Linked DNA regions of Homo sapiens: regions 1 and 2 are each linked to region 3. Evidence: promoter capture Hi-C in 16 types of primary human blood cells and fetal thymus (Javierre and others, 2016). All regions are on one chromosome and are shown on one strand. The core of a region is centred on a gene start or on the middle of the fragment in contact, and the rest is flanking DNA. Distances in the headings are between cores, read along the strand shown. Region 1 overlaps EDRF1-DT (EDRF1 divergent transcript). Region 2 overlaps OAT (ornithine aminotransferase). Region 3 holds the start of ZRANB1 (zinc finger RANBP2-type containing 1).

Region 1 (3,260 bases), core at 48-2,547, 770 kb before region 3:
GTGCAGCACACCAGCATGGCACATGTATACATATGTAACTAACCTGCGCATTGTGCACATGTACCCTAAAACTTAAAGTATAAGAATAAATTAAAATAAAATAAAATTTATTCTTTAATATTTTCTTTTCCTATTTTTATTTCTGATTATTATAATATGTAATTTTGTTAAGCTTTTACACACATACATAATTCAGCTTGTGATAATCTTTAAATTCTGTTGTTTTATTGTGTAATTCTATCTTTGTAAGAAAGAAATAGCAGTGATTCTTTTCTCAGGATTCAAATATTTTGCATGCTTCTTGAGAAGTGAGTGCCTAGACACGTGTTGATGATGCTTAGTGGGAAAATGTGCCGGAAATAGCTTGTGAAAAGACAAAGTATGAAACAGAACCAGGAAGTCAGCACAGAAAGAGAGGTTGGGAGCACACAGAGGATAATGGGAGCTCTAAGGGTGACCAGTGACCCTTAGGACTGACTGTGGAGGAAAGCCTGAGTCGGGGCTGGGTCTCCAGCAGCCACACACAGGACCAGGATTACAGTACTGTAATTTAGTTCGTAAAGGAGCATGATCCCTGGGGGCTGGAACAATTGGGCACATGTGGGTTACATAAAATTTATATATGCCTCTTGCTCTAAGGGCTTATTAATTTTTTCTTTTTCCCTAGTCAAACACTTTCACATGCTGCTGGAGCTCATAGTGGTCAGGAAAAATTTTAAAAATAAGTGGGGAAAAAAAACCCACTTTTACATGGTGTAGTGTTTTTTAAAAAGTTATTGTCACTGTTTTTAATATAGGAAGTTGAAATATTTTGTGGGAAAACATGGAGAATAAGACATTACTCTTAGAATTTCAAGTTTTCAGACACGAATTGATTTTCATTTTTATATTGTACCAGTGTCTGCCTGTTTCCTCCATCTCTGTCCTCCTGCCCCAGGGACCCACTTGGGATGTACCCCATCATCCATGGCCTGCTCTGCCTTGTCTGTGTAGTTATCCTGGCTCTTGTAACTACCCATGGCTCTCACGTGTTTACTTGCCTCTTCAGTGCCTGATGCTCTAGCTACTAAGAGTGTTTGTTGAATGAATGAGCAGCATGCTTGTCTGCTGCTCCAGCTACTTGTTCCATAGCTCCACGTTTGCTGGTGCTTTCCTCTGCCTAAAATACCTTTTTCTTCCTCACCTGGCTTCTCTCCTGACACCTCTGCCTCCTTACCCCTCAGGGTTCCTTCCTTTGTTCCAGTCGCTTGTATTGCTTTATCCTGCACTTGTCACATTATAGAAAAATTACCTGTTTGTATCTGCCTCCCTCCCCGACTGTGAGCTCCTCAAAGGCTGGTGTCCCGTCTGATCACTGACACCAGGCACAGCACCCGGACAGAACTGTTTCAGCCCTTAGGCAACGGAGGGAAAATGACTGGGGTTGACAGGCTTTTAAAATGCTCATCAAAATGTTTGAGACATAAAAACAATGTTGTTGGCTCCAAAATATTTTTTTAATCTGCAAAATCAAAGCTAAAAATGTTTAATGAAGTAGCTCCAAAATACTGCAATGTCAATGTCATTAATTATTAAAGTTAGTATTGACATACAGTTTGTTTCATTCTAAAACAATTTGTAGATTAGACTTTCTCAGCAAAAATCCTCCCAGCATGCAGTGATTTCTGAGAAATCCCAGTCATTTGTAAATTCATGTAGTTATTTGTATAGTTTCCAAAACTTTTACAGCAAGACATTCATAAGTAAGGCAAATGTGGTTGGGGCTCCTGCCGAAAGTACGAGTGCCCAGGGTACTCACGGTTCTTCTCTAGCCCCACTGGCAGAGCATGACAAACTTGAAAACCTTCTAAACTCAGGGACCATTTGGGGAATATCCTTTTCAGTTTGCCCTGGGCCCTTCCACAACCTAATGTCTTACCCCTAACCAGCCTCATTTGTTTACTTTCTGGACCTTAGAAGGTTCTGAATTTCTGGCTCCTGATCCTGGACTTTTAGAGCTGAAAGAGAGATTTGAGGTTGTCTGAGCCAATCTCTTTCCTCTTTAGATGAGAGCAATGCAGTCCAGAAAGGAGAATAGGATTGACTTGTTGAACATCATACAAAGTTAGGACTAGTACCCAGGTCTCCTACTTACTTAGCTTTCTAAAAAGTCAAATAGTAGACATAGGCCAGTGGAATTTGAAGTTGTCTCATAATCACCTGAGGAACTTGTTTAGCAAACAGATCCTGCAGCCACCTCCAGAATCTAGTATCTCTGGGGTAGTGCTGATTAGTCTACATTTTTAGTGCAATTGTTAAGTTTCTGACAACCTTGCCCTGTAGACTACACCTTTGGACAGTGGTCTCCAAAGACAGTCCCCTGAGGTGCAGGAAGACTAACTTTTTTTTTTAATATGAAAAGTAAGGGCAAAATTAAGCTTTACTAGTATGTAATATACAGATTGACACAGGTGCTCTTCCTTGGGCCATGGTGAGCTAGTCAAATAAGATTGGGCTATGCTGACAAAACAAATGATCCCTAAGTGTCAGTGGCTTACAACTGGGTTAGCCAGAGAAAGAACAGGACGCAAAGTTAAATTTGAATTTCAGATAAACGGTGAAAAAATTTTTAGGATGAGAATGTCCCAAATATTTAGCATAAGTATGTCCCATCTGATGAAGCAGCTTCAATCTGGAGCATTGCCAGTTGCAGTAGCAGAGAGACAAAAAGAGATTGGTGCATTGCAGACTAGCTACAAAGGCTTTTGGTCAGAAGTGGCAAACATCACTGTCATTCACCTTTTTTTGGCCAAATAAATCACATAGCCAAGCCAAGCATACATGTGGCAGGGGAGACTGGATCCTAAGGAGGAATGTTGGTTATCCGTAACCATTATGCAGTCTACCACAGGCATATATGGTGGCTTGGATAGGCTATTGGGTGCCATTCACAAGGCTAAATTTGGTGAAAAAACAAGGCCTTTTGCAGAATCTTTTCAGAGTTTTGTGATGAGGGATGTCTTAGTCTGTTTTGCATCATGATAACAGAATACCTAAGATTGGGTAATTTATTTTTAAAAAAGGTTGATTTAGTTCATGGTTCTGCAGGCTGGGAAGTTCAAGCACATGGCTCTAGCTTCTGGTGAGAGGTTTCAGGCTGCGTCATAATATGGCAGAGAAGATCAATGGGTAAATGGACATGTGTGAAGAAAGGCAAAACCAGGTGGGTGTTCTGACTTCATAATAACCCACTCTTGCAGGAACTAACCAATTCCTGAGAG
Region 2 (3,397 bases), core at 277-2,776, 530 kb after region 3:
TGGGCACAGTGGCTCACACCTTTAATTCGAAAACTTTGGGAGGCCGTGGTGGGCGGACTGCTTGAGCCCAGAGGGATGGACAGTTCCTCTGTCTCCTGCCCCATGCCTAGTCTCTGGCAGTCTTCTCTGATTTGGTCTCCCTGCCTCTGGTCTCTGCCCTACAGTTGTAGCTGTCTCATAGCATTGTGCCTGATGGTATCGGACTGTGGTAGGTGCTTAACAAATACTTAGTGTTTAGCAGGTACTCAGTCAACACACAGTGCATTAGCTCTGGAAAGAGTCTTACTCTTATTGATTGGTTGGTTGATTGATTGCCTGATTGACAGGGTATCACTCTGTTGCCCAGGCTGGCCTCAAACTCTTGGGCTCAAGTGATCCTCCCGCCTCAGCCTCCTGAGCAGCTGGGGGCTACAGGCACAAACCACCACACCTGACTCAAGATTCTCACTCTTTTTTTTTCTTTTATAGAGACTATGTTGCCTAGGCTGGTCTTTAACTCCTCGGCTCAAGCGATCCTCCCATCTTGGCCTCCCAAGGTGCTGGAATTACAGATGTGAGCTATCACGCCTGGCCATTTTTTTTTTCTTGAGACTGGGCCTTTCTTTGTCTCCCAGGTTGGAGTACAGTGGCACAATCTCAGCTCACTGCAGCCTCAACTTCCGGGCTCAAGCAATCCTCCCACCTCAGTCTCCTGAGTAGCTGGGACTGCAGATGCATACCACTACACCCAGCTAATTTTTCAATTTTTTTTAGTGATGGAGTCTTGCTCTGTTGCCCAGGCTGGTCTCAAACTCCTGGGCTCACGTGATCCTTTGACCTCAGCCTCCCAAAGTGCTGAGATTATAGGCATAAGCCAAGGATTCTCACTCTTAATGCATTCTCTTTTCTTTGGACAGATCTGTGGTTTTTCTACTTGAAGGACACAATGTTTTCCAAACTAGCACATTTGCAGAGGTTTGCTGTACTTAGTCGCGGAGTTCATTCTTCAGTGGCTTCTGCTACATCTGTTGCAACTAAAAAAACAGTCCAAGGCCCTCCAACCTCTGATGACATTTTTGAAAGGGAATATAAGTATGGTGCACACAACTACCATCCTTTACCTGTAGCCCTGGAGAGAGGAAAAGGTACGTTTCAAATTAATCCGTCTTTTCCCTTTTCTTGAAACCTTTTATAAAAAAAAATTGCTTCCATATTTTCACAATATACATTTTTCTAGATGTGTTTAATGTGTATATTGCAGACATGGTTAATTCTTCTTCTTCTTTTTTTTTTTTTTTTTTTGAGACGGAGTCTCACTCTGTCACCCAGGCTGGAGTACAGTGGCACAATCCCAGCTCACTGCAACCTCTGCCTCCCAGGTTCAAGCGATTCTTCTGCCTCAGCCTCCTGAGTAGCTGGGACTACAGGCGTGCGCCACCACACCCAGCTAATTTTTGTATTTTTAGTAGAGATGGGGTTTCACCATGTTGGCCAGGCTGGTCTCAGACTCCTGACTTTGTGATCCTCCCACCTTGGCCTCCCAAAGTGCTGGGATTACAGGTGTGAGCCACCACGCCTGGCCAGTTAATTCATTTATTGAGTGTCTAGTGCTGCTGTGTTAGGTGCTATGGAGGCTTCAAAGAGGAACCATTGTCTTTGTCATGTAGACCTTACCAAGAGGGAATGCAAGAGAAATAAGGAAAGTACTATCATATTGCTGTCATTTTTTTCTTTTAACTTTTATTTTGGCATAGTTTTAGACTTAAGAAAAGTTGTAACAAATAGTACTGACATTTTCCTTTTATACTTCTCCCAGATTTTCCAAGTGCTAACTTTTTGCTGCTTTGGTCTTAGTGTGTTCACTCCCTTCTCTTCTCCCCCCGCCGCCTGCATATTCTACATTGTTTTCTGAACTGTTTTGAGAGGAAGTTGCAGACATGACATCTCTTCTTCTTTTTTTTTTTTTTTTTTTTTTTTTGAGACGGAATGTCGCTTTGTCACCCAGGCTGGAGTGCAATGGTGGGATCTCGGCTCACTGCAACCTCTACCTCTCGGTTTCAAGTGATTCTCTTGCCTCAGCCTCCCGAGGAGCTGGGACTACAGGCCCACGCCACCACGTCCAGCTAATTTTTGTATTTTTAGTAGAGACAGGGTTTCATCATGTTGGCCGGGCTGGTCTCGAACTCCTGACCTCAGGTGATCCACCCACCTCAGCCTCCCAAAGTGCTGGATTACAGGCGTGAGCCACCGCGCCCCGCCACATGACATCTCTTTACCCATAAATACTTAGTGTGTCTTTCCAAAAACGCAATGACTTTTTGAGATAGGGTCTCATTCTGTTGCCCAGGCTGGAGTTCAGTGGTGTGATCATGGCTCACTGCAGCCTGGAACTCCCGGCTTCAGGTGATTTTCCCACCTCAGCTTCCCAAGTAGCTGGGACTACAGGTGTGCCTTACCATGCCTGGCTTATTTTTTGTAGAGATTAGATTTTGCTATGTTGCCCAGGGTGATCTTGAACTCCTGGTCTCAAGTGATCCTACCACTCAGCCTCCCACAGTGCTGGGATTGCAGGTGTGAGCTACTGTGCCCAGCTGACTTTCTCTTTTATAACCATAGAGTAATTGTAAAAATCAAGAACTTAACACTGGTACAGCACCATTAGTCTAGAGACCTAATCCAGATGTCATTTGTTCTCTTTTATAACAAAAGAAAAACCTCCGATGAGTTGCATTCAGTTGTCATGTTTAGTCTTCTTTAACCCAGAACAGTTCCTCAATCCTTGGTTGTCTTGGTCTTCTTTCCCTTTGTATTAAGTATCTTGTGGGGACAGAGTGTAAAACTCTGTAAATATCCAGTTACTCATGAACTTTTACTCACAATTTCAGCATCCACTAATGATTCTTGCCTGAATAAATGATTACGGTGGTAGTTGCCAAATGGTGATTTAATCTACAATTTGGAATAAATAACAGCCTTAACCAAATAAAACCAAAGTTTATTACTTAGCTTTGTACCAGAAAATGACAATATAAGAGTATCACACATTTTGGTCATTTGCTTGTATTTTATTTGGTACCAGTACTGTAGACATATCTTCTTTTGAACTATTGAAAATCTGTTTCATATTACATGACATGGCAACCTTGTTTTTACTTTCCCACTAGCAATGTATGAGAGTGCCAATTTCTTCAGATCCTTGTCAAAAGTTGTTTTTTTAATTATAACCATCCCAGGGAGTATGAGATGGTATCTCATTGTGGTTTTAACTTGCATTTTCCTAATGATTAGTGATGTTGAACATCTTTTCATGTGTTTCTTGCCATTTGTATATCTTCTTTGAAGAAATAGCTATTCAAGTCTTTCCCCATTTTTTAAATTGGGTTGTTTGTCCTTTTGAAATTGAGTTGTAAGAATTCTG
Region 3 (3,671 bases), core at 489-2,988:
CAAGATGCTCACACTGTTTACAAATACTTGGAAACAGCAGCTGGTGTTCCTCAGTTACATCTTGTTACAATAAACAGAGTAGCAGTTTTAAAGTCCAGGTATATATTTTACTGCTGATGTGTAAAAACTTTGCTTTAACTTAAACGTTTCCACTGCCCCCAGTAATGGAGAGACATGAACACAATTAATTGTGGGCAATTTAGTACAAAGTTACGACAAGATCACAAATACACAAATTTTTATGTATGCATACTTGAAAGTACAGCTATCGTGCTGAATGAATCAAATGCTAGTGACTTTGCGCATATATATATACACACACACACACACACTCACATTTTTGCATGTGCGTGGAGACACAGTCTCACTATGTTACCCAAGCTGGAGTGCAAGTGCTATTCACAGACCGATCATGGCATACTACAGCCTCAAACTCCTGGTTTCAAGCAAGTGGCTAAGACCACAAACGTGTGTCAGCGCACCCAGCTCTTTTCATATCATTTTTACTACCTTTTCCCATCCCACGCAAAAAATGCAGAATACAGAAACTTACCCACACAAGCATTGAGGAAGAGCCAATCAGTCTTTTTCATCCTGTTTTTAATTTGCTTTAGTTTTTTAAAGTCTACTTCAAGTTCCTCCTTGCTTCCCACAGCACCAGCCAATTCAATCCTCTGAAAATCCATTTTCACTTCAGAGTCCCGCTTCGTAGCAGGAGGTGATCTCCTTTGGCTATTACCACTACTGCAACTTCCCCTCCATCGAGCTCTGTCTTGCTCATTTATTATTGAAGAAGCCTCTTCAGTCTCTGCCAATTCTATTGCTTCAATGTTATTAGGTCTGGGATGATCACAAACAACACATCTTTTAGCCTTGGCCCAGTTTTCATATGTGCAAACAGAGCAAGTCCAGTGCTGTGTCCTAGTGTTCAGTTTATTTCTATCATTGTATTCCTCACAAGGATCAACAGAAAAAGCAACTGGTCTTGAGCCAGATCCTGAGGACTGAGGAGATTCTGTAGGACTCCTGGTCCTACGTTGGGATAAGCACTGGGTACATCTGATTGCTCTTGGCCAGTTCAAATATGTACACATGTGGCATGACCACTTATTTGCATTTTCCATGCTATACGAAGATTTCACCCTTGGTCTTGCACTAGAGTCTGGACATATCAAAGGACTACTTCCTCCTTCGGTGCTGGAAGGATCCCAATCTCTACCAACATCACTTGAACCACTTTTAAATGGATCTTCTGTAATAATTGTTCCACTAGGTCTTTGGGCACGACACATAGTACACTTGATTGCAGATGGCCAGTTTTCATACGTACAATATTCACAAGCCCACTTAATTCCACGTTCTGACATTGTGCACTTCTTGAAGTGAGCTGTGTCAGGCAGGAAGCTATAAATAATTAGGACATGGTTATTAAAATAACTACATTCCACCTCCAAAAATACGCTGCCCAAAAAGCAAGTCCTTCAACCTACAAAATATAAATTTCTCAAAAGATGCATGCAACATTTCGACATTGAATTATCCTAATTTTCTTTTTTAATTTCCATAGAAACACTGGAGATAAATTCTCAAAGAAAAAATCTTAGACCCTGGGATTTAATAAAACTGAACTTTGGAATGCAAAAGAGATAGGCAGGAGATATAACGAGGTTTGATCTAAGAAGGATGAGATTAACGGGAAGCCACTAATAGAAATGTTTAATTTCAGGGAGGCCATCACATCAATTTAGAAAAGTAACCAATAGTTTAAAGAGACAAAGGTAGAGGAAACAACACAAACTAAAAAATAGCTTAAACACATAACCATTCTCAAATTATGAACACAGATTATGATTCATGAATTCAGAAGATCAAGCAACGTCTATTTTATCATTCTCGCTAAGGGAGAAAAGCAACTTAAAATGCTAATTATCCACTGTTCTTAATTAGCACAGGTAGTAAAGAAACATGTTGAGAAGTAATGGCTACAATTAACAAAGTAACATTATGAAATAGGTAGTTCCTTGATAATCTGTAGCCTCAAAATCTAGTTCTATCTGGAGTAAAAAAAAGAAGACTGTACTGGGGAAAATTAAATCTGTGGAAGGTCACTGAAATAACCAGTAGCATAATCATTCCAATATAATTGTGAATGTTCATAATTAAAATATTTTAAATTTTGAATATTTAAAATATACTCAAAATCTAATTCATGGCCGGGGGCAGTAGCTCAAGCCTATAATCCCAGCATTTTGGGAGGCTGAGGCGGGTAGATCACAAGGTCAGGAGTTCAAGACCAGCCTGGCCAAGATGGTAAAGCCCCGTCTCTATAAAAATACAAAAATTAGCCGTGCATGGTGGTAGGTGCCTGTAATCCCAGCTACTCAGGAGGCTGAGGCAGAGAACTGCTTGAACCCGGCAGGCAGAGGTTGCAGTGAGCTAAGATCGCACCACTGCACTCTAGCCTGGGTGACAGAGTGAGACTCCATCCCCTGCCCCCCAAAAAATCCAATTCATATTTAAAAGATATTCACACTACTTAAAAGATTTCTAGGATTCAACAATGGGCTAACACTACACTATAATGAAGAAAGACTTCATAATTTAATGGCAACTAATTCATAAATGAAGCAACTTACATAACAAATTTAATTTTTTTTTTTTTAATGGCTTGAATTTAGACACTGGCCACTTTTCCTAAATACTTTTATCAACTCAGTATCATCCCAACACCTATTTTTCACCCGGAAAGAGAAAGAAATCCTAGGCAGAGTATAGAAGCTTTGCTCTCTCTTTCTCAGGGATTTTTCCTGAACCTAGAGGGTTAAATCTTTTGTTTGTTTGTTTTTTTGTTGTTGTTGTTTTCATTTTTGTTTTTTTGAGATGGAGTCTTGCTATGTTTTGCCCAGGCTGGAATGCAGTGGAGTGGTGCAATCTAAGCTCACTGCAACCTCCACCTCCCAGGTTCAAGCGATTCTCCTGCCTCAGCCTCCCAAGTAGCCGAGATTACAGGTGCATGCCACCATGCCCGGCTAATTTTTGTATTTTTAGTAGAGATAGGGTTTCAGCATCTTGGCCGGGCTTCTCTTGATGAACTCCTGACCTCGTGATCCACCCACCTCGACCTCCCAAAGTGCTAGGATTACAGGCATGAACCACCACGCCTGGCCTAAATCTTTCACTTTTGAAGTATACTGTATTATGTTCCTGCCTGCCAAGTCCATACACCATTTATAGTGTGAACTCTGCTAAGAAGAAAAAAAAATCACTATAAGAAAGTATACTACTTAATAGCTAAAATAAAAACCACACTTACTAAGATTTTAGTTCCCACGCTATAACCTCCACCTTGCACATGATTAGAATAAAAGTACGGTTTGCAAATCAGATCAAAGACAAGATTCCGTCTTCATGCTGGCTCAGAATTCTGACTTCCTCAGGAGATACTGCAAAACGTGATAAGTGGTTCTGTCTGACTGAATAGCTATTCCTGTAAAGGAGACCAAAACTGAATTTCACTTGAAGCCTGCTACTTTAGCTAAAAGATTTTTAAGGCTTTATTTTTATCAATTCTCTATTTTAACCCTACTCACTTATTTTAACAATGGACAACTATATTTAGAATTTTAATTTAACAAAACAATAAAATTGGCTAATCAACTGGGCTGGTCAGC

What was found. Contacts are between HindIII fragments. The CHiCAGO score rates a contact against its expected background, and 5 or more counts as called.
Region 1: a contact is called between a fragment that was not itself captured here and the fragment with the promoter of ZRANB1 in region 3, in 1 of 17 cell types (monocytes). The highest score is 5.5, in monocytes.
Region 2: a fragment that was not itself captured here is called in contact with the fragment with the promoter of ZRANB1 in region 3 in 3 of 17 cell types (total CD4 T cells, naive CD4 T cells and total CD8 T cells); the score reaches 6.3 in total CD4 T cells.

The regions. Positions count from the first base shown.
Region 1 is chr10:125,711,416-125,714,675 of GRCh38, reverse strand. It overlaps EDRF1-DT (EDRF1 divergent transcript), which reads left to right. Exons shown (of 5, transcript NR_033847.1): 2 at 3,088-3,202. Among named protein-coding and RNA genes, the nearest start is that of EDRF1-DT, 6.4 kb to the left of the region's middle. The HindIII fragment of the contact is 2,245 bases long and covers 175-2,419 here.
Region 2 is chr10:124,409,700-124,413,096 of GRCh38, reverse strand. OAT (ornithine aminotransferase) reads left to right here. Exons shown (of 10, transcript NM_000274.4): 2 at 897-1,124. The coding sequence starts at 926. Among named protein-coding and RNA genes, the nearest start is that of OAT, 7.5 kb to the left of the region's middle. The HindIII fragment of the contact is 4,951 bases long and covers 1-3,397 here.
Region 3 is chr10:124,940,190-124,943,860 of GRCh38, reverse strand. ZRANB1 (zinc finger RANBP2-type containing 1) reads right to left here and starts at 1,738. Exons shown (of 9, transcript NM_017580.3): 1 at 554-1,738. The coding sequence starts at 1,367. The HindIII fragment of the contact is 2,790 bases long and covers 1-2,780 here.